Linked DNA regions of Homo sapiens: regions 1, 3, 4, 5 and 6 are each linked to region 2. Evidence: promoter capture Hi-C in 16 types of primary human blood cells and fetal thymus (Javierre and others, 2016). All regions are on one chromosome and are shown on one strand. The core of a region is centred on a gene start or on the middle of the fragment in contact, and the rest is flanking DNA. Distances in the headings are between cores, read along the strand shown. Region 1 has its middle 7.5 kb from the start of MEGF9. Region 2 holds the start of CNTRL (centriolin). Region 3 holds the start of STOM (stomatin). Region 4 overlaps B3GALT9 (beta-1,3-galactosyltransferase 9). Region 5 overlaps MEGF9 (multiple EGF like domains 9). Region 6 overlaps PSMD5 (proteasome 26S subunit, non-ATPase 5).

What was found. Contacts are between HindIII fragments. The CHiCAGO score rates a contact against its expected background, and 5 or more counts as called.
Region 1: a contact is called between a fragment that was not itself captured here and the fragment with the promoter of CNTRL in region 2, in 15 of 17 cell types (naive CD8 T cells, naive CD4 T cells, non-activated CD4 T cells and 12 more). The highest score is 23.8, in naive CD8 T cells.
Region 3: the fragment with the promoter of STOM here is called in contact with the fragment with the promoter of CNTRL in region 2 in 8 of 17 cell types (total B cells, activated CD4 T cells, naive CD4 T cells and 5 more); the score reaches 8.3 in total B cells.
Region 4: a contact is called between a fragment that was not itself captured here and the fragment with the promoter of CNTRL in region 2, in 13 of 17 cell types (naive CD8 T cells, total CD8 T cells, non-activated CD4 T cells and 10 more). The highest score is 20.6, in naive CD8 T cells.
Region 5: a fragment that was not itself captured here is called in contact with the fragment with the promoter of CNTRL in region 2 in 8 of 17 cell types (naive CD4 T cells, monocytes, neutrophils and 5 more); the score reaches 10.6 in naive CD4 T cells.
Region 6: a fragment that was not itself captured here is called in contact with the fragment with the promoter of CNTRL in region 2 in 9 of 17 cell types (non-activated CD4 T cells, total CD4 T cells, total CD8 T cells and 6 more); the score reaches 18.7 in non-activated CD4 T cells.

Annotation. Positions count from the first base shown.
Region 1 is chr9:120,720,025-120,723,871 of GRCh38, reverse strand. It overlaps the pseudogene AHCYP2. Among named protein-coding and RNA genes, the nearest start is that of MEGF9, 7.5 kb to the right of the region's middle. The HindIII fragment of the contact is 4,871 bases long and covers 1-3,847 here.
Region 2 is chr9:121,073,000-121,076,796 of GRCh38, reverse strand. CNTRL (centriolin) reads right to left here and starts at 1,842. Exons shown (of 44, transcript NM_007018.6): 1 at 1,730-1,842. It also overlaps a transcript of C5 not described here. RefSeq lists silencers at 1,438-1,577, 1,698-1,757, 2,382-2,578 and an enhancer at 1,878-2,267. The HindIII fragment of the contact is 4,047 bases long and covers 870-3,797 here.
Region 3 is chr9:121,367,992-121,371,848 of GRCh38, reverse strand. It overlaps STOM (stomatin), which reads left to right and starts at 1,599. Exons shown (of 7, transcript NM_004099.6): 1 at 1,599-1,722. The coding sequence starts at 1,662. LOC102723324 (a long non-coding RNA gene) reads right to left here and starts at 1,956. Exons shown (of 7, transcript NR_187160.1): 1 at 1,883-1,956. RefSeq lists enhancers at 1,085-1,174, 634-1,594. The HindIII fragment of the contact is 8,041 bases long and covers 1-3,857 here.
Region 4 is chr9:120,798,721-120,802,149 of GRCh38, reverse strand. B3GALT9 (beta-1,3-galactosyltransferase 9) reads right to left here. Exons shown (of 3, transcript NM_001386823.1): 3 at 363-3,429. The coding sequence ends at 2,472. Among named protein-coding and RNA genes, the nearest start is that of B3GALT9, 7.0 kb to the right of the region's middle. The HindIII fragment of the contact is 2,767 bases long and covers 242-3,008 here.
Region 5 is chr9:120,669,110-120,672,615 of GRCh38, reverse strand. The region is part of intron 1 of MEGF9 (multiple EGF like domains 9); the gene reads left to right. Among named protein-coding and RNA genes, the nearest start is that of MEGF9, 44 kb to the left of the region's middle. The HindIII fragment of the contact is 251 bases long and covers 1,783-2,033 here.
Region 6 is chr9:120,816,007-120,819,749 of GRCh38, reverse strand. It overlaps PSMD5 (proteasome 26S subunit, non-ATPase 5), which reads left to right. Exons shown (of 10, transcript NM_005047.4): 10 at 1,587-3,697. The coding sequence ends at 1,844. Among named protein-coding and RNA genes, the nearest start is that of B3GALT9, 24 kb to the right of the region's middle. The HindIII fragment of the contact is 371 bases long and covers 1,683-2,053 here.

The DNA of each region.
Region 1 (3,847 bases), core at 946-3,445, 350 kb after region 2:
CCCCTTTATTACAATGATAGCAACCTAAGGGATAGAGTTATTTGTGAAGGTCTAACCCTATTCCTCCCCCAAATGGTTCAAATTCTTTGTATTGCAGCCAACACTGATGACGAGTGAGGGTTTGACTTGGTGCCCACTGTGAATGACGTCCTTCAGTAGATCTCCAAGAACTGCAGCAAATGCTTTTCTGGGCTTATTTTAGCATCAGAGGGCCTTTGAAGCAGGATTTCAACATTTAGCTTCATTGTTTGGGGATGGTGCCTTGCATTTAATGTAGGTTTACAACTTGAGCCTTCCTTCCTCTCATCATCTTGAGATACCATGAAGGCAGGTCAGGGATGTGGTTGGCAGAGACATATCTTCAGATTCAAATGAATTCTGTTGTTGATTGTTATTGATTTTGAGAGTAATAAGTGCTCACTATTAAAAAAACTGGAAAATGTAGAAAACTATGAAGGAGAAAAAAGTTAAATATCCATAATGCAGTCACTCAGAAAAAAAGAATGTTAACATTTTGGTGTATTTCCTTTTGGTATTTTATTCTCTGCACATATTATCATTTACACAATTTGGGAATCATGGCATAAATAGTTATATTAATGATTTTTTCCACAATTTTATAAGAATTTCCTTCATAAGTATCTTTTTTTTTTTTTTTTTTTTTTTTTTTTGAGACAGGGTCTCACTCTGTCACCCAGGCTGGAGTGCAGTGGCACCATCTCCACTCACTGCAACCTCCACCTCCCGGGTTTAAGTGATTCTTCCACCTCAGCCTCTAGAGTAGCTCAAACTACAGGTGCAACGACGATGCCAGGCAAATTTTTCTGTATTTTTGGTAGAGATGGGGTTTCACCATTTTGCCAGGCTGGTCTCGAACTCCTGAGCTCAAGCAATCCACCCGCCTGGGCCTCCCAAAGTGTCAGGATTATAGGCATGAGCCACTGTGCTTGAGTATCATCTTTTTTTTTTTTTTTTTTTTTCAGGCACCAAGATTTTTATTTACCCACCTTCCTGCTTTCTTTTAACATTAAAACCATATTATTCTCTTTTTGAACCAGGGTTGTGATAGGAACCATCTTGTTACAAAGTAGTAGCAGATCTATGCTTGCTTTTATGTTTTTATAGCCCCTCTGGCTGTCACTTCTCTGTCCTTTCTCAGTTATCCCTTTACAGTCTATTCTGACCCCTGTAAAACAGGGACTAAAAGTACCAACCTCATTGTTATGAGGTTTAAGAGAAGGCCCAGCCCTAAGCCAGGCTCTCAGGAAAATTCAAACAACAGTTCCTCTTTGCCTTTCAATATAGCTCCTTCTCATCTGTCATGGGCTGGGGAACCACTGAACCTGTAAACCACGGGTATAAGTCCACAGACCAGGAACACGGTATAAGTCCACAGACCAGGAACCTTACCTGAATGGTAAGGTACATGGGCTTTGTGACTCCACTACCAACTTCCAAACTAAGGAAGGACTGACTGGGCGCCAGTGGCTCATGCCTGTAATCCCAGCACTTTGGGAGGCCGAGGCATGAGGGCAAGAGATCGAGACCATCCTGGCCCACATGGTGAAACCCCGTCTCTACCAAAAATACCAAAAAAAAAAAAAAAAAAAAGGAAGGACTGACTTAGTGAGCAGTTCCAAGACCACTCAACTCATGGTTCCTTGTGGATGCCTCCCTTGTACCTCCATCATGACCAGGGCTTGAGGAGGGGCCTCTCAATTTCCCCGCCACACTTGATATAGTGTTAGGGATGCAGCAGAGGCCAAAAACTGAGTGACCAGCCCCATCGATGGGGGACACTAACCAACCAATCACAAAGTTGGTGCCATTTGCTCTTAGGGAGAAGAGGCGGGGCCTGAGCAAGGACAGCAGCTGGAAAGTGAAGGGCAGGCCTGACTCTCAGCAGCAGTAGTGATCCGGCTTGAAGGGGCCATCACGGGACGTGCTCAGCTACTGGGCTTGCTTCTCAGTTAGCTTGGTCAATTTCACGTTCATCTTGCCCAGGGGGGCGCCTCAGCCACTGCCTCATCCAGCTTCTTGGGCAGGAAGTGAACCCCAATGGGGTACTTGTCTGGGTGGGTCCACAGCGCAATCTGCACCATCACCTGGTTGAAGGAGTTACTCCCCACAAAGCTGGGGCGGCCCATAGCACAGCCCAGGTTGACCAGCCAACCCTCAGCCAGCACGATGATGTGGCACCCATTCTTCAGCCAGTACCAGTCCGCCTGGGCTTGATGTTTGCCTTCTCCACAGCATTGTTGTTGAGGCACCTGACATCGATCTCCACGTCAAATTGTTCAGTATTACATAAGATGGCATCATCCTTCATCTGCTCAAAGTGCCGGCCAAGGATGATATTGACACAGGTTGTGGTGGTGACAAAGATGTTGCCCTCCTGACAGGCCTCGTCCATGGTGGTCACCTCATAGCCTTCCATGGCAGCCTGCAGTGCACTGATGGGGTCAGTCTCGGTGATGATTATGCAGGCCCCAAAACCCTGCAAGGCCTGGGCACAGCCCTTGCCCACACCACCATAGCCTGCTACCACTGCTACCTTGCTGGCAATCATCACGTCTTGGTCCACTTGGTGCCATCTATAAGGGACTCCTGGCAGCCATAGAGGTTGTCAAATTTTGCTCTTGGTGACGGAGTCATTGACGTTGATGGTAGGCACCTTCAGGATTGCACTGGCCATCATCTTGTGTAGGTTGTGGACCCCGGTTTTGGTCTCCTCAGAGATGCCTCAGATGCCCGACATGAGCTGTGGGTACGTACTTGGTGTGGATGAGGTTGGTAAGGTCACCCCCATCATCCAGAATCATGTTGAGGGGCCCGTCCTTGAAGTACAGTGTCTGTTCAATGCACCACGGGTACCCCTCTTTCATTTTGCCCTTCCAGGTGAACACTGGCATGCCAGCCTCGGCAAAGACAGCCACTGCATGTTCCTGGGTGGAGAAGATGCTGCAGCTAGACCACTGCTCCTGAACACCCAGGGAGAAAAGGGTCTCAATGAGGATGGCCGTCTCCACAGTTATTTGCAGGCAGTCAGCAATGCAGGCACCCTTCAGTGGCCTGGAGGCCGAGTAAAGCTCCTGCATGCCCATCAAACCCGGCATCCATTCTCCACAATGTCTAGGGCCTTGTGTCCCCAGGTGGCCAGGCCGATGTCAGCAACTTTGTAGGGCAGTTTGTCAGACATGCTGGCGGCACCTTTGATGGACAAGGGCAAAGGGGGCTGGGCCATAGTCTGGGGACAGGCACTGGGTGGGCAGTGTTGGGCAGGCAGTGCTAGGCAGGTGAGTATCATTTTTTATAGATGTATAGTGTTTCTACATAGAAACATCATACAGCACAAAGTACTCAACTAATCCTTTGTTAACTGTTTAGATTTTTCTAATTTTTGTAATTATATAACACTCTGGTGAACATTTTTGTACATACATATTTACATCTGATTATTTATTTCCTTTGGATAGATTCTTTTTTTTTTCTCTTTTTGGGACAGGGTCTTACTCTGTTGCCCAGGCTGGAGTACAGTGGCATGATCATGGCTCACTGCAGCCTCGACTTCCCAAGCTCAGGTGATCTCCCACCTCAGCCTCCCAGGTAGCTGGGACTACAGCTGCATACCACCATGCTAATTTTTAGTAATTTTTTTTTTTTTTTTAGTAGAGACGGGGTTTCACCATGTTGCCCAGGCTGGTCTTGAACTCCTGGGCTCAAGTGATCTGCCCACCTAAGCCTCCCAAAGTGTTGGGATCACAGGCATGATCTCCTGTGCCTGGCCTTTGGCTAGATTATTAAAAGTAGAAATAATGAGCCGGGTGCAGTGGCTCACGCCTGTAAT
Region 2 (3,797 bases), core at 593-3,092:
ATCCTGATTCCGATTCCTCTGCAAAGTCTCCAGCCATTTTTCTTTCCAAAGCCAATTCCCCCATTCTGTGCTGCCCACCCACCTCTGCCTCCCATTCTTCTTTATCCCATTCTGATTGCCAATTTTCCCACAAATTCTATCCCAGTTCCCTAACACAGTAATAGTCTCCCCCATTTCTCTATGGTTCTTTCCTGTGCCCAGACTCAACATTTCTCTATCCATCCAGACTTCCCAAGCTGCTCATCTCTCTTCACCCCAGAAAATACCCTGACATCCTAATGCGTTCCAATACTCTGACCTCCAATTACTCCCCTCCCTAAACAAAATACTCAAACCTCCATCCATTCCTCTTCATCCCAACCCAACTGCCTGCCTATTTGCCTTTCCATCCTAATACTCTAGCCCCCGTATCCTTCTCCATCCTATTAAAAGCCTGAATCCCCTCTCCCATCTCTCTTCTTCTGCTCAGATACCCTAAAACTCAAGCTTCCCATCTCTTTCCATTAATTATTCAATTTTATTGAGCAACTTTTATGTAGGAAGAACCATGCTAGAATCTAAGCTCAAGATGCAGAAGATTTTATCTCCCTATTACCCATGATCTCTGCACCAAGCAGTCTCCTTCATAGCATTTTATAACCATTATTTGTGAAACTACTTGGTTGTTGCCTGTTTCTCCTTCTAGACTATAAGCTACAAGAGAGCAGAGGTTTTGTCTGTTGTTCTATAAACAATAAATATTTGTTGACTGAAGGACTGTACTAAACACTTAGACAATACCAAATTTAAATCCTCAAAGATTTAGCTGTATAGGATCAGAATTATTAACCTGATTTACAAATGGCAATGTACCTGAACAGTTAAAAGCTTGGATTCTGGAACGAAACAGCCTGAGTTCAAATTCTGATTTTCCACTTACTGTGTGATCTTAGGCAAATTACTTAACCTCTCTGGTCCTCAGTGCTATCACTTTTTAAATGGGGATGATAACCTCATACAAGTTATTTTAAATTCTAAATGAGGTTAATACGTGCAAAGTGCTTAAAACTGGATCTGACAAATAGTGAACACCCAAAAATGATTCGCAATTATTTGGACAAATGAGGAAACATGATCAGGAAGGCTCAGACACATATCCAGGGTCACAGACCTGGTTAAGTTACACAAGGTGGCAGAATTGAGGCTTCAACCCAAGTTTGTCTGGCTTCAAAATTCTCTAGTCCCTTAACGAATATAACGGAAGTGTTTGTTCTTCCCCTTCTTTTAGCATTTCGTCCCCATATCCTGTCATCTTTCTCCACGCACTGTACTCCGTCCGATACCGTGACAACCCGTCAGGACGCCCAAACTGTCCTTTCTCCCGCTCACTCCCCACAGACAGCTGGCACATCCCAGCTCTCCCCTCAGCTCAGGTGGCAGGACCCACAACCTTCTGGGCGCCGCACCCTAACTTCCACACCTCCCCACACTCTGGTTCTTCATCCCCAATCGCCCCCGCCGTCCCCACCTCTTCCCATCCAAACCTCCCTCCTTCATCCACCGCCCCACGCCCGTTCCGGGCCCTCCCCTCTTTCCCGTCCAATCCCAATTCCCAGACACGCGCCCCCGCCCCGAATCCATCCCAAGCCGGCCCACACCACGCCCGGTCCGGGCCTTCCCGCCTTTGCCGCCGGCCCCCACTGCTCGGGCCGGATGCCGGGGAACGGGCTCGGCCAGGTCTGACGCTCACCGCCTAGAAGCCGAGCCGAGCAGTCCCGCAGGCTGAGGTAGAGCGGGAGAAGTTCGGGCTCTTTCCTCAGGGGCCCAGCGGCGCGGCAGCCATTTTGTTGTGTTGTGCCGGTTGCCGAGGGGCCGCGCGCGCGTGGTCGGGGCTAGTCTCAGCCACGCCCCTCTCCCTCTCCGGTACTGTTGGAAGGGACGCGGAGGCGTTTCCCGCCTCTTTTGCAGCCAGCGCGCTAGGATGCCGGGGAGTCTTGGGCGCGAGGCTTCCGGCCGCGCGGGGCCGACGGGATGCGGTGCCTTCGCCTTCGGATTGCGTTGCAGGTGAAGTGTCGGGTGCAGAGTCAGGGGGAGCCGAGGTTTCATGCGGCAGCTGCCCGCAGTGCTGTGGCCTTCGCTGAGACAAAGCTGCCGCCGCCACCCTCTGAAACACGGACACGCTTCTCAGGGCCTGTGTCCGAGGACGGCCTGAGGCACCGGCGCAGCGCCTCCCCGGCCTCCCCCACTTCTGATGCTTGCGCGCTATGAGCGAGTGTTCTTATCAGCACACTTCTCTCTGACAGTCGTATCTAAAGCGAATTCCCTCCAGGGACCGAACTGCCCAGGCTCGGATGAACCTCAAAGCGGACGCAGCCTGGGCTCCAGCTGTCGCGTGAGGTTCAGGGAGCTTGGGAATCCTAGGCAGAGGATGTTCCTCTGATTGCTACAAGGGAGTTAAAGCAAGAAGCACTTGCACAGGCTTCATCTGGGGCTTGCCCATGAGCACGGCGTTCACGACATGCATTCAACAGATATTTTAAAGAATTTAGCAGATACTGGGCTGGATGCTAGGGAAACACTGAAGTTTTTTTTAAAGTGTTATCACCATTGACGCCTTTCACTCCAGTAGCCTCCCGTTTTGAAGGTATACCCTGGACCATGTTACCATCAGAGGCTGCACCCGCTCCAGAAATCCCCAGTGCAATCGCTCCCCATCCTTGACTATAATCCTATCATCTTAGCAGCGTGCCTGCTCAAAAGACCCCTATGCCAGCGTATTTCTAAACTTCCTTGCGTCTTCCAGTCCCTTGTTCTTACCATTTTCTCGCGATCATTCTATCCTGTCTTCATTTCCTTTCTTCACTACAGAGTTTATAGGCCACCTGTATAACACTTTTAGAAACTCCCTCTCTCTCTGTGTCTCAGTTTCCTTATCTATGAAATGAGGTCCTTTTACCTATTAACACTTCCTACAGTTTTCCTGATAATTATAAAAGTGAATCCTGGCCGGGCGCTGTGGCTCATGCCTGTAATCCCAGCACTTTGGGAGACCAAGGTGGGAGGATCACTTGAGGTCAGGAATTCAAGATCAGCCTGGCCAACAAGGTGAAACGCCGTCTCTACTAAAAATACAAAAATTACCCGGGCGTGGTGGCGCACGCTTGTCATCCCAGCTGCTTGAGAGGCTGCAGGAGGATCGCTTGAACCCGGGAGGCGGAGGTTGCAGTGAGCCGAGATCGCGCCACTGCACTCCAGCCTGGACGACAGAGCGAGACTCCATCTCAAAAAAAAAAAAAAAAAAAAAAAGTCCAGTTTTCCTGATAATTATAAAAGTGAATCTCTGTGAAAGAACTTAGAACAGTGAGGGACCCATAGTAAGTTCTCAATATGTCTTAGATATTTCATTATTAGACAAAGGTTACCCAGAAGCAATACTTCTTTCTACGCCCAAAAGAAGAGTTTAGGCAAGGAGTAGGGAGGTGGGGAAGAATTTGCTTGGCAAAGGGAACAACTTGTGCAAACCCCGGAAGCGGGGGAAAAGAGCTTGGCAATGTGCTGAATGTTAAGTAATTCAGTGTGGCTGGAACAAAACATGAGTATGGAAACATGAAGTAGTTCAGTATGGCTTGTGCAAAAATCTGGGGTGGAGAAGCTAAATCTGGAAAAGGGACCATATTATAAGCAGTATTAGGCACTTCATTTTTCCTTAAGGCAGAGATGGCTTCACCTCTATAGGAAATTCAGGGGACGTCCAACAGGGAATAAGCTGCAATAAACATGGGGATGCAGATGTGTCTTTGATTTACTTTGATTTACTG
Region 3 (3,857 bases), core at 350-2,849, 300 kb before region 2:
ACCAGATGTGGCCTAATGGAACCCCTATTCCACCAGCCATCATTACAGCTTTAATTGGACAAGAGGCTGATTTCAGTAACTTTCTCCTCATAGGAAAACTACCGACCATGGACTGGCTCTGGCTAGTTTACACAGACTGCATACTTGCACACCTTCCTGTCCTGAAAAGACCTTTTGACGCATGGGGTCTAACTGTAATACATGTATTGTTATTATTTTTTAGAGTCCATCAGGCTGGAGTGCAGTGATCTGATCATACATCACTGCAGCCTCCAACTCTTGGGCTCAAGTGATCCTCCTGCCCCAGCCTCCTGACTAGTTGGGACCGCAAGCACACACCACCCCACCTGGCTATTTTTTTTTTACTTTTTGTAGAGATGGGGACGTCACCATGCAGGCCAGGCATTTAACATTTAATTGGTAACTCTTCACTCCAAAATGAACATGGGTTGTATGTTACATGCATGTTTGCTCAATGGGCATGCGTCAGGACCACCCTCATGAATATTCATAGCTCCTCCTGTCACCTGCTGAATATGCATGTCTACCCAAGCTGTTCAGCATAAAGCCGCTACTCCAACCCCTCCTCCAACGAAATGCCTGTCTCTGGTCCTGGCCATTCTCCAGCCTGCGGAATGGCCACCTTGCAGGCTGTAACCCCTTACAAGAAATAAAGTCTCCTCTCCTGTTTTTTTGTTTTTTGTTTTGTTTTTTTGAGACGGAGTCTCGCTCTGTCACCCAGGCCATCTCGGCTCACTGCAACCTCTGCCTCCCAAGTTCAAGCGATTCTCCTGCCTCAGCCTCCCAAGTAGCTGGGATTACAGGCGCGCGCCACACGCCCGGCTAATTTTTGTATTTTTAGCAGAGACGGGGTTTCACCATGTTGGCCAAGCTGGTCTCGAACTTCTAACCTCAGATGATCTACCCGCCTCGGCCTTCCAACGTGCTGGGATTACAGGCGTGAGCCACCGCGCCCGGCCTCCTCTCCTTTTCCAAATTTATACATTTTGATTTTCTTAACACACCTCACTCGAGTTCGTTCACTTCGGCTGCGGCGTGATCTGCCGGCCCTCTCAGCTCAGGCTGACCTCAGCGCCCTCACTTCGGCCACTTCTGTGTCCCTCAGTCTTCTCCCCTCAACTCGGACCTCGCGCCCTCATGACAGGGCGCCATTTTCTTCCCTCTAACTCCTCAGCCCAGAGGAGGCGCCTTGGTCCCGTACCTCTGCCCGGCAAGGCGACTTTTCTTCACTTGCACTTTTGCCTCGGGTCATCCTCTGCTGCTACCTCCCCACTATCCTCACCATCTGCTCCACGTCCCGTGGCTTCCGCCCTCCCTTCCGGTGCAGGGCCCCGGCCTCATACCCACAGCCTTGGGGGCTCTCGCCCCTCAGGCCACGCCCCTCAGGCCACGCCCCTCAGCCCACAGAACTAGCGGGAAGTGACTGCGAAGCAGTCGCGCCGTGGAGGGACAGGAGGGCGGGGATTGGGAGGTGGGTCCTCCTCGATCCTGGGCGTTGATTGGCCAACTCTCACGAGGGCGGGACCTCGATTGGGGGCGGGGCGGCAATCTGGGTCTTGTGCCTCTGGCTCCTCAGGGCATTCCCGGCGGCTCCGGGTTTGGCAACGAGGACGGGGGAGTGCGACTGCGTCTCGGGCAGCATGGCCGAGAAGCGGCACACACGGGACTCCGAAGCCCAGCGGCTCCCCGACTCCTTCAAGGGTGAGTCCCGCGTCCCCTGACCCTCCCCCGTGGACCGAGCCCCCGCCCGCAGCGTGCGCTCCGAGGTCTGACAGCCGGGCTCCTGGCCAGTCTCCGCTGCTTCGGGCTGGGCGAGATCTCAAAGCCGCGGCTCCTCCCTAGTAAACTGAGCATCACGAACCCTGTTTGGCAGACTGAGGTCACGATGGAGGGGTGGCGGGCTGCCAACGGCACGTTTCCCATCGCACGGGCCCTGGTTATCTCGCGGCCGCCAGATGCCAAGCCCCATGCCAGGGCTGCACTATCTCGTGTCACGCACGCGGACTAGGAAACGCAGAGGGAACTGGCAGCCAGCGAGGCGGGGACCGGGACCCCACATCTCACCCTTTGCCCACTCCCCTTCTTTCCCGACTCACTCTCTCGAAGGCCGCCTCCTCCACCCAGCCCTGGCCTGGCCCCAGGGTGAACCCCCTCCTCCCCCAATCCCACCTCCCGAAACTTAGACCGATTTGCAGAAGGAAGAAGTCTCTCTGGCTTTCTTCTTACCTCTCTTTCTAGCTCCACTTTCTGCCCCATTTTTCCCCCTCCGCTTTCCTCTGCGTTTTGGAGAACTCTCCTTCCCGGCTTTTGTTCCTCGCCAGGAACCCTGAGTTCTCCCACCCTCACCCCCACCCTCCCTTCCCAGTCTTCAAGGCAGGAGCTGTAAGTGGCTCAGTCTCGTTCCCCTGTGGAGGAACTGGTACTCTGGGGAGGGGGTTCCAATAAAGAGAGATGGTGGACCTCTCAGGAGTCCTGGTACCCACTCAGGAGCTCTTAGTGATCCAGAGGAATTACAGTGTTTCTAAAGATGGAATTTCAGGCAGGATGGCAGTGAAAGCAATTTAGAGGGCTGGGTGGTCCTTTCCAGGACCCCTCAAAGAACATGACATTGGAGTCATCTATTCTGATTATTTGTAAAGCCAGCTTTATCCACAGCATCTTAGCTATAAGTTCCATTTCCCTTGTCCAGGGATCCCTGTGTTCAGTTCCTTCCCAGGAGCATCAAAGGAATTACAGAAATCTTTATTCCTCACTTTTTGTCTACTAATAACGTTGCAGGTTATCTTCCCAAATGGAGAGTGTAACAGGGAGGAGTTGATGAGAATAATGGCAACCACAACAACAAAAATTGAAACTAAATAGGTCAGGCTCCGTATCACTTTTTTTTTTTTTTTTGAGACGGAGTTTCGCTTTTCTTGCCCAGGCTGGAGTGTGATCTCCGCTCACTGCAACCTCCGCCTCCCGAGTTCAAGTGATTCTCCTGCCTCATCCTCCCAAGTAGCTGGGATTACAGGCGTGCACCACCATGCCCAGCTGATTTTGTATTTTTTGTAGATACAGGGTTTCACCATGTTGGTCAGGCTGGTCTCAAACTCCTGACCTCAAGTGATCCACACGCCTCGGCCTCCCAAAGTGCTGGGATTACAGGCATGAGCCACCGCGACCCCCCCAGTGCCACGTATTTTATGTATATATTATTTTATTGAATCTTCACAACAGATGATGTGGTAGGTATTCTTATCCCCATATTATACTTGATGAAACTGATAGTCAAAGAAGTTAAATTACTTAAAGTCACTTAGTTTGTATTTAAATCTAGATTTGACTGATTCTAAAACTTGAATAGGGAAAAAATGGGTGGTAACTGCCTCTTCGATAGTTAGTTGTCTTTTCCTAGATAAAAAGGTGGGTATTAGCATGCATTCCTCAATACCCTGACCTCCTGGTGGGAAACTGCAGTGGCAAATCTGCTTGGAGTTCTTTGAGAATCAACATGATCTTTGTACTTAATGTTTATTTACAGACAAGTGGTCATAGATGAGTTTTTAACTTCCAGTTTTTTTCCTTGGTTCTACACTTAACTACTGTTTAGACAGAAATCTTTCAAGATCTAATGAAAACCACCACTTCCTCTCAAAAATTAGACATACAAATAAAATTTTGCATAGTCTGTGTTTTTTTAATGTAAACCTAACAAATTTGACGCTACTAGGAAAGGTATTGCTGGAATTTATTAAATAGAGGTTATTGAATGCTTTCCCTGTGCCAAAAGACAGTTTAAGTGCTTTACAAACATTATCTAATTGCATTCTGTAACAGCTCTACAAGGAAAAAGT
Region 4 (3,429 bases), core at 376-2,875, 270 kb after region 2:
TACCTGCAGAATAATAAAAGTATACCCTCATCTCACACTATATACAAAAATCAACTCACAACGGATTAAAGACTTAAATGTAAGACCTTAAATGTAAGACCTGTACAACTACTAGAAGAAAACATAGGTGGGGGAAGCTCCATGACATTGGTCTGGGCGAAGATTTTCTTGGCTATGACCCCTTAAGTATAGGCAACAAAAGCTAAAATAGACAAATGAGATAATACCAAACTATAAAGCTTGTGCATATCAAAAGCAGCAATCAGTGAAGAGATAAGCTATGGAATGGGAGAAAATATTTGCAAGCCATATATCTGTTCTGGGGTTAATATCCAAATAGATAAGGGACTCAAACAACACAATAGCATGAAAGCAAATCACTTTATTTATTTTATTTTATTTTGTTTTTTGAGATAGAGTCTCAGACTGTTGCCCAGGCTGGAGTGCAGTGGCATGATCTCGGCTCACTGCAACCTCCACCTCCTGGATTCAAGCGATTTTCCTGTGTCAGCCTCCCGCGTAGCTGGGATTACAGGCACGTACCACCGGGTCCAGCTAATTTTTTGTATGTTTAGTAGAGGCGGGGTTTCACCCTGTTGGCCAGGCTGCTCTTGAATTCCCATCTCAGGTGACCCACCTGCCTTGGCCTCCCAAAGTGCTGGGATTACAGCCATGAGCCACTGTGCCCTGCCCAAATAACCTGACTTAGAAATGACCAAAGGCCCTAAATAGACATTTCTCAAAAGAAGAAGTACAAATGGCCAACAGGTATATGAAAAAAAAATGCTCAATACCACTAATCATCAGGGAAATGCAAAGTAAAACCACAATGAGCCATTATGGTAAACCAATAATACAGCCATTATGGAGGTTCCTCACAAAATTAAAAATAGAACTGCCACACAATCTAGCAATTCCGCTACTGGAAATATATCCAAAAGATATTAAATCAGTATGTTAAAGAGATATCTGCACTCCCCACATTCAATGCAGCATTATTCACAAGATTAGTGGCATCTATCTAAGTGTCCACCAGTGCATGAATAAAGAAAATGTGGTATATATCCACAATAAAATGCTATTCAGCCTTATAAATGAAAGAAATCCTGTCATTTCCAACAACATGGATGAACCTGGAGTGCATTATGTTACATGAAATAAACCAGGCATTGAAGGACAAATAAGCACATGAGCTCACTTATATGTGGAGTGTAAAAAAACTCAAATTCATAGAAACAGAGAGTAAATGGAGGTTACCAGAGACTGGGGGTTGGGAAAACTTGGCAGATATGGCCAAGAGATCCAACATTTTTGTTAGACATGAGGAATAAGTTCAAGAGCTCTATCATACATCATGGTCATGACAATTAACAGCAATATATCAATATCTGATAATTGTTAGTAGAGTAGATTTTAAGTGTTCTCACTACAAAAAAGTATGTCAGGTGATGCATGTGTTAAATAGCTTGATTTAGCCATTCTATAACATATACATATATCAAAACATGTTGTACAACATAAATATACATAATTTTTACTAGTCAGTTTATAAAAAAAAAAACTTAGTTATAATGAATTGTGTACTGGCCAGGTACGGTTCCTCACACCTATAATCCCAACACTTTGGGACTTTGGGAGGCTGAGGTGGGAGGATCACTTGAGCCCAGGAGTTCAAGACCAGCGTGGGCAACATCATGAAACCCCCATCTCTATAAAAAAATACAAAAATTAGGCCAGGCGTGGTGGCTCACACCTGTAATCCCAGCACTTTGGGAGGCCCAGGCGGGTGGATCACTTGAGGCCAGGAGTTCGAGACCAGCCTGGCCAACATGGTGAAACCCCGCCTCTACTAAAAATACCAAAAATTAGCCAGGCGTGGTGGCAGGCACCTGTAATCCCAGCTACTTGGGAGGCTGAGGCAGGAGAATTGCTTTAACCTGGGAGGCAGAGGTTGCAGTGAACAGAGATGGTGCCATTGCACTCCAGCCTGGGCGACAGAGCAAGACTCTGTCTCCGAAAAAAAAAAAAAAAAATTAGCCGGGTATGGTGGCACATGCCTATAGTCTCAGCTACTCAAAAGGCTGAGGTGGGAGGATCCCTTGAGCCCAGGCGGTGGAGGTTGCAGTGAGTCGAGATTGCGCCACTGCACTCCAGCCTGGGTGACAGAGCCAGACCCTGTCTCAAAAGAAAAAAAAAAAACGAAAACTAAATAAACAATGAAACATAATGTTCTCTCTTTTGAGAGAAATATTTCATTTTGAAAAGAATTATGCTACACCAACTTAAATTTTTTAAAAATTTGAGATCTCAGTAATTGAGCACACCAGAGCACAGAAAACATTTTGTACCTTTGCAAATAAAATTAAAGATTCAGAGAACCTACATAAAACATGGGAAAGAAGGGATGCTTTCCATAACAGGGTAGAAGGTAACTTTAAAATAGTAGACTCATAAGGAAAATTAAAGAAATCCTAATCAGCAAAATACATGAGATTGTTTTTTATGGTCCCCATGTGAAAACGTTTAAAGCTGTCAAGGTACGTCAGAAGTTTGCAGGAAATGAGCTCATAGGATGTCTCAAACAGTGTACATTCTTTTCCATCATTAATTTCCTTCCATGCTAGGGGCATTTCAGGATCTGCAATTTCTGAGGATGTAAAAATGAACTTATAGCAACATCTGTTGTATCTAATGTGCCTTTTCCCAGAAAACCTTGAGCTGTGGATGGGTATAAGGCCAATGAACTTAGCACAAATTCCTACAAACACATCAGCTGGCACCATCATGGGTACTTCTTTGAAAACCACATACATCATTCGAGCCACATCTTGGGACATTATAAAGGCCTCACCACTGCAGTAATCTGGGTAGTATTTTTCTGGGTACTCACTAAGAGGGACAAAGTCTCTGTTCTGAGGATCTCTATTGGGTGTAACCTGATGAAGAACTCTTCCTACATAGATATCTTCTAGGTGTTCTTTCAGATTGAGAAGATAGTCTACCAAGCTTGGTAGATTGACAAACGTCTCTTCATCCACCTTGAGAATGAACAGGGCATTAGGGCAGAAAGCCACAGCCCACTGTATCATTGCAATGATCTTCAGGGTTTGGTTCTCAGAACTGTCCAAGAAGATTCCTTCAATTATATCATTATTCTTACAGGATTCTTTGTTGATCTCTTTCTGGGTAGTTACCGAAACAGGCATTCCCAGAGCAAACAGTGTGAGAATGGGATGCCCTTGGACACTGGTCACATTGCCCCAAGTTTTCCTAATGAGGTCCCGTCTTGTTCCATTTCCTGGGCTACTGAAGATAAGAGACAGCAAAAAAATGTTCTTCCCTTTACATATTTCTGACTGGCTCAGGACATAATATTTGGAGAGATTACTTCTTAGGGGTTCGATGTTCAATTTTCTTGCCTTATTCTTA
Region 5 (3,506 bases), core at 659-3,158, 400 kb after region 2:
AGGGTCTCATTCTGTTACACAGGCTGGAGTAGAGTGGTGTGATCATGGCTCACTACTGCCTTGACCTCCTGGGCTCAAGTGATCCTTCCATCTCAGCCCCAGGAATAGCCGAGACTACAGGCATGTGCCACCATTCCTGGCTTTTTATTTATTTATTTATTTATTTATTTATTTATTTATTTTTCTGTAGAGATGGGGTCTCACTATGTTGCCTAGGCTGGTCTTGAACTCCTGGATTCATGTAATCCTCCCACCTTGGCCTTCCAAAGAGCTGGGATTTTATACGTGTCGAGCTACTACCCCTGGCCCAGTTTTGTTTCTTTTTTGATCTGAAGACCATTTCTTTCTTTTCCTTGCCTTATTCCACTGTCTAGGACTTCTAATATGATTTTGAATAGGAGTGGCAAGAGAGGACATTCTTGCCTTGTTCCTGATCTTGGGAGAAAGTAATTAGTCTCTCACTATGAAGTATAATGTTAAATGTAGTTTCTTCATAGATACCCTTTATTAGGCTGAGAAAGTTTCCTTCTATTCATAGTTTTCTGGGCACTTCTCCCATGAATGGATGTTAATTTTTTAAAATCTTTTCTTGCATCAGTTGAGATGAGATGGCATTTTTCTTTAGTCTGCTAACAGGATGGATTGCACTGATTAGTTTTCAAGTGTCAAACCAGTATTTCTGGAATAAATCCCACTTAATCTTTTTATATATTGCTGGGTTCAATTTGTTGTTTATATATTACTGGTTATTTTGTTGAGAGGTTTTTGATCCAAGATGTTCACAAGGAATATTGTTCTGTAGTTTTCTTGTAATGTTTTTATCTGGTTTTGATGTCAAAATAATGCTGTCCTTATAGAATTAATTGGAAAGGATTCGTACCTCTTCTGTTATCTGGAAGACATTTTATAGAATTGATGTTATTTCTTATTAAAATGCTTAGTAGAATTCTCCAGTGACGCCATCTGGGCCTGGAGATTTCTCTTTTGGAAGGTTTTAAACTATAAATTCTATTTCTTTAATAGGTATAGGACCATTAAGGTAATCTGAATTAGGTTTTGATAGCTTGGTTTCCAAGAGATTGGTCCATTTCATCAAAGTTGTTGAATTTATGTGCATAGAGTTATGCATAATATTCCCCGTAGTGATGTCTTCTCCTTCATTCTTCATATTAGTGTCTGAAAACAATAACAATGATTTATTTCTCATTCTGATGGTTCTTCTCCTGGTCTCTCTTGGGCTTACTCTGGCTGTATTGGTAGATTGGCTACAGCTGGAGGATCTAAAAATGGCCTCACCCATATGTTTGGGGCCTTGATGGGGATGACTGGAGTAGCTGAGACTTGTCTCTCCCTGGATTCATTGGGAACCAAAATGATCTGCCATGTGGAAGTGGAAGCATAAGGAGAGGACTTGATCATAGTAAAATCCTCAGTAAATGCTCATGGATTTATCCAATGACGTGGAGACCAAAGAAAGAGTTTCAAAGAGGAAGGGGTATCAGTATGTCACATGCTGCAAAATAGTTAAGCAGAATATGGCCTGAGAAGGCTATTGTTTTGTTTTGGGTTAGTAACTTTTGAGAGAGCATTTTTAGTAGAGTTTAGAAAAGATTGCAGAGCATTAAGAAGAAAACGTGGTGAAGAAAAGGAGGCAGTCTGTATTTTTGTTTGAGAAATTTTATTTAGAAAATAAATGCTAGTTAAATGGAACAGGAGACTAAACAGAGAATTGTGAGAGACCCAATGCATATTTGAAGGTAAATTCTGTAAAGAGTGAAAGCTTGAAAAGGCTCAAGTAGGGGGACAATGGGAGTGGGCAGAGTAGAGTCCTGGAAAGAGCTCTGGGAGAGGATGTGATAAAGAGCGCAGTTGGAGGGATTGTTTGGTCTTGGAAGGAGCTGGCTAGCCTGAAACTGGAGGGAAGGTTAAATTGATGGGAAAAAGCAGGAAGAGAGAAAAAGAAGGTCTCAGTTTCCATGAAGTTGCAACCATTTGCTGGTTGTACAGTGGGATGGAAGACTTAAAGAGAAGCTTGGAATAGCCAATGCTGGCAATGGATATTGAAACAGTAAGATAAATCTAAGGATTTAGAAGCAGTTCTAGGGACTTAGTGAAAGTAAAACCTTTAACACACTAGGTCTTTATATTGTAACTTTCTCTAACAATGCTCTAGGAACACGGTAGAGGATACATAGTGGAAGGTACAAAGAACTTTTAGAGGCCGGGCACGGTGGCTCATGCCTGTAATCCCAGCACTTTAGGAGGCTGAGGTGGGCAGATCATTTGAGGTCAGGAGTTTGAGACCAGCCTGACCAACATGGTGAAACCCGGTCTCTACTAAAAATACAAAAATTAGCCAGGCATAGTGGTGTATGCCTGTAGTCCCAGCTACTCGGGAGGCTGAGACAGGAGAATCGCTTGAATCCAGGAAGCGGAGGTTGCAGTGAGCTGGGAGTGTGCCATGGCACTCTAGCCTGGGTGACAGAGTGAGATTTAGAGAATAAGGGTGTTTAGAATGCTAATGAGTAAAGTATTTGAGTACATGATCCTGTATAGTAAATATTTTTCTATAATCTAGACTAGACTTCTCTCTTTCTTCTACCTTTTTTATGACTTCAGGAAACTTGTTGAATTATTCCAATTCTGGATTAAAAGAAGGTCCCTTCTGCCAGAAAATTGTAAAAAGCTGTAGTTTAACCAACTCTAATTCCTAATCTTCCCCAATCCCTTATTTTAGAGCATTTATTGTCATATCTCGTTTCTGATATCAATTTCTGAGAGCATTTTCTACATTTTAAGAAAAGTAGGACATCTGGGGAGATAAAACAGTAAATATCCTATTCTGATACTGTCACATTTTTATCTCATTTCATCCTCAGAAATAACCATATTAAATATATTTGCTGTCATTTTGCCTTATGTATTTTGAGACTATGGTATTAGATATATATCTAATTTAGAACTACATATTTTTAATGAATTGTACATTTTTTTATGTAGTGACCAGACCTCTTATCTGCTTATATTGCTTTTTTTTTTTGCCTAAACATCTATTTTGTCTCATATTAATTAATGTAGCTAGCTGTACTAGTTTTCTTTTGGCTAGTATTTACGTGCTTCATCTTTTTTCCATTCAGTTACTTTTAACCTTTAGGTATAATTCTGTTTTATGTCTTTTGTAAACTGTTTGTAGCTGGATTTTGTGGGTTTTCATTGAATCTTGAAGATCTTTGTCTTTTAAATTGACCAGCTCTAATTTTATTTTATAAAATGGAATCTGATTTGAACAGACATTTATAGCTATTTACTGATCAGTACTGTGCTAAGCCACTATGAGAAATGTGGAGAAATATGAGAAAATTTGCCATCATTGAGCAATTTAAAACCTGTGATTTTCCCTTAAAACATAGTATATACATTCTAAATTTTCAAAGGAAATTGCCTTCTGATTTACTTATTCAGATTATTAGATATACCAGTGGGTCAATTAAAAAAAAGTTTTTGTA
Region 6 (3,743 bases), core at 619-3,118, 260 kb after region 2:
ATTCTCCTGCCTCAGCCTCCCGAGCAGCTAGCCTACGGGCGCCCACCACCATGCCCGACTAATTTCTTTTTGTATTTCTAGTAGAGACGGGGTTTCACTGTGTTAGCCAGGATGGTCTCGATCTCCTGACCTTGTGATCCGCCCGCCTCGGCCTCCCAGAGTGCTGGGATTACAGGCGTGAGCCACCGCGCCTAGCCAGAAACATTTCTTTAAGACTGCTTCACCCTTGTAAATGGTCATTGTATGAGATGGCCATTTTGGATCCTGCTTAGTATTTTCATTATTAGTTTATTTTGGTTTTGCTCTTCTACCTTATCCTGTGCTTAGCTGGTTCCATTGTAGAAATAATTTTCTATTTACTGGTTGGGATAACTATTTTTATTTCTGCCTACTTTCATGCTTGGTTGTGAAGCAGGCCAAAGTTTCTCAAACATTAATCTTAGGAATCTTATTAAAATGTAGATTCTAATTCAGTAGTTGTGGGGCAGAGCCTGGGATCCTGAAAGTCTAACAAGCTCGCAGGTGTTGCTGATGCTACTTGTCTGTGGAACACATTTTGAGAGGAAAAAACTAGGCCATAAACTTGTTACTTCTTTTTCATTAAAACGTAATAGGTTTTGAAAAACTTAATCTTAAAATTTGGAAAAGACTTAGAAGTAGAATTTTTTAAAATCACAGAAAGTTCTACCTTTTGGTGTATTTCCTTTTAGTTTTTGTATTAGTGTGTGTTTATTTTTGGTGAAATATTTCAAATATAGTTGTATCTTGCTACCTCTGCCCAGTCCTATTCCCCTTCCTCTGTTCTTAGATAAAATCACTATCACAAAGTCAGGGCCCATAAATGATTTCATATTTCTACTACATATTGTGTGTATCCTTAAATAAAACACAGTATTTTAGATATTCATAAACTTTGTAAGTGGTATCATGCTGTTTGTATCATTCCATTAGGTTGGTGCAAAAGTAATTGCAGTTTTTGCTTTTTTTTTTTTTCTCTTCAATGTTACGTTTTTTTAAAATTTGTCTATGTTAAAAGAGGCAGTTAGAAAGTTGGTATTTCATTGAATAGCCACAATATATCATTCTCCTATAAATGAAGATTTAGATAGTATCTTACAAATGATACCACAATGAACATTCTTGAAAATGTTTGTGCACTATATGAGTATCTTGAGGTTAGTCTTTTCTACTTTAGTTTTTATTTTTCCACTGTTGTAATCATGCATTGTTTATAATTTGAATCTGCTTTTTTTATATAACAGGTTTACCTGTATCATTTCCTATTTTTTGTAAACATTATTGTTAATGTTTATTTTTATTGCTATATACCATAATTTACTTAACCATTCTCCCATTATTAGATATTTATATTGTAACTTTCACACTATTATGAACATTTTTGTATACAAAGATTTTTCATATTTAAGATTATTTTATTAAGTTAGATTCTCAGGAAGGAATTTACTTAGACAAAAGGTAACATTTTTAAAGTTCATGTTGCCAGATTTCTTTGTAAATATTGTGCCATCCCATTAACAAACAACTTCCACTCAGGGGAATTGTATTCTTTCTGCCTTCCATTTCAGGCCATTGCAAACCAACCCTGGGCTCAGAAACTTATGTTTAACAGTCCAGGTTTTGTAGAATATGTGGTGGACCGGTCTGTGGAGCATGACAAAGCTTCAAAGGATGCCAAATATGAACTAGTGAAAGCACTTGCCAATTCCAAGACAATTGCAGAAATCTTTGGGAACCCAAATTATTTGAGGCTCAGAACTTACCTGAGTGAAGGGCCATACTATGTGAAACCTGTTTCCACGACAGCAGTAGAAGGAGCCGAATGATTTCTTCTAGAGCTCATGTAGAGGACCACGTTTTGACCAAAACTTCTCCTAAGGCATTTGACTCCATCTATATTTCACAAAAGAGACTTCCTTTCCCCAAGAATTATCATGGAATGTCAGATGTTACTTTGTTACCAACACTGTTATATTTCTACATTGAAATGCAAAGTGGAACTAGGAGTTTGGAATGCATTAAGAGCAGACAAGCTTGGTCATAATAGATCCAGTGTTTTTCAGATTCCTTTCACTGCCTTAATCTTTGCAACAGGGTGGAAGTTTTTTTCTTCCCTCAAAATTTTCATGGACATGCAATCTTATCTAAAAGCCTGCTTCAGGGCTGGGCGCGGTGGCTAACACCTATAATTCCCAGCACTTTGGGAGGCCAAGATGGGCAAATCACTTGAGTCTAGGAGTTCAAGACCAGCCTGGCCAATATGGCAAAACCCTGTCTCTACTAAAAATATAAAATCAGCCAGGCATGGTGGCGCACACCTATAATCTCAGCTACTCAGGAGGCTGAGGCACGAGAATCGCTTGAGCCTGGGAGGCAGAGGTTGCAGTGAGCTGAGATCTTGCCACTGCACACCAGCCTGGGCAACACAGCAAGACTCTGTCTCAAAAATAAATGAATAAAATAAAAACCTGCCACCAAATTATTTCTGGATTCTCTTCACTATCTTTTTTTTTCTTTTTGGTCCTTTTTCCATTTCTGATTCCACTTTCAAAGTCTTGGATATATTCTTTGAAAAATGAGTAGTATGGAATATTAAGATTATGTTCCTTATACTCAGAATACTTTTTATGAGCTCTCTTGTTTTTTTGTTACTATTATTCCTTTGAAAAAAAGACAAAATATCTAAAAAATGTTTATAGTGTTCATGTAATTTTTTTTGCTGTTTACCAATGAACTTTGCCCTGTTGTGGTTTTGGGGGATCAGAAGGATTCCTAAACTGTCATTTCATTTATTGGTAGGTCATGATTGCTGAGGGTTTTGCTTTGGATTTTTCATACCTATAAAGTCAATCTTGAGTTGATCAGAGAAAGGGAAACTTACTCCTAATAAACAGACTCAGAACAGAAGGGACATATGCATAAATCAGGATACCATCTCATTAATTTACAAAGGATAATCTTTCTTTTCATTGACAACACCTACACCCACCTGTTTTCCAGTGTTCTTCTCTCTAAACAGCAAAGCCAAAGCACTCTGCACACCAAATCACCTGTTCAGAGGTTTATGCATGAGCATATTTCTTTTAGGCCGTGGTGAAGTTGATAAACCACCCCTGCTTTGTAACAAAATTATTTTAAAGTGACTGGAATTATCTAGTCCCCAGATTGATCATCTCCCCTGGCAACGTGACTCTGTTTTTTGTGTGTGTTTCCATGCTGACTAGTCCCCTACTGTTAATATCACTACTAATTAGGCTATAACCAGGTCTTTCCTGGCCTGAGAAATATTCTCTTAAAATGACCTTTGTTTTAATCTCATTCATGATGTTGATTTTTTTTCAATGTGGTGCAATATATACAATAAAATTTGTCATAACTATTTTAAGTGTACAGTTCAGTATATTACATATGTTCATAAGTTGTACAACCATCACCACCATCCATCTTCAGAATTATTTTCATCTTATACAATTGAAACTGTATTCATTAAACAATAACTGTCTATTCCCTCTTTTCCCCAGCCTCTGGCAACCACCATTCTGCTTCATGACATTGATTTTATTCACTTAACATCAGATTTTGGGGGGATGCCCTCTCTCCTATGTATGGTCTACACATTCTGATTTTTTTTTTAGATTGAATAAAATTTGTAAATCATTATTTTCATTTCATAAGTAAACACCTGTTGACTGCCTATTATGTTCTTGGGATTGGGGAAGGTGCTA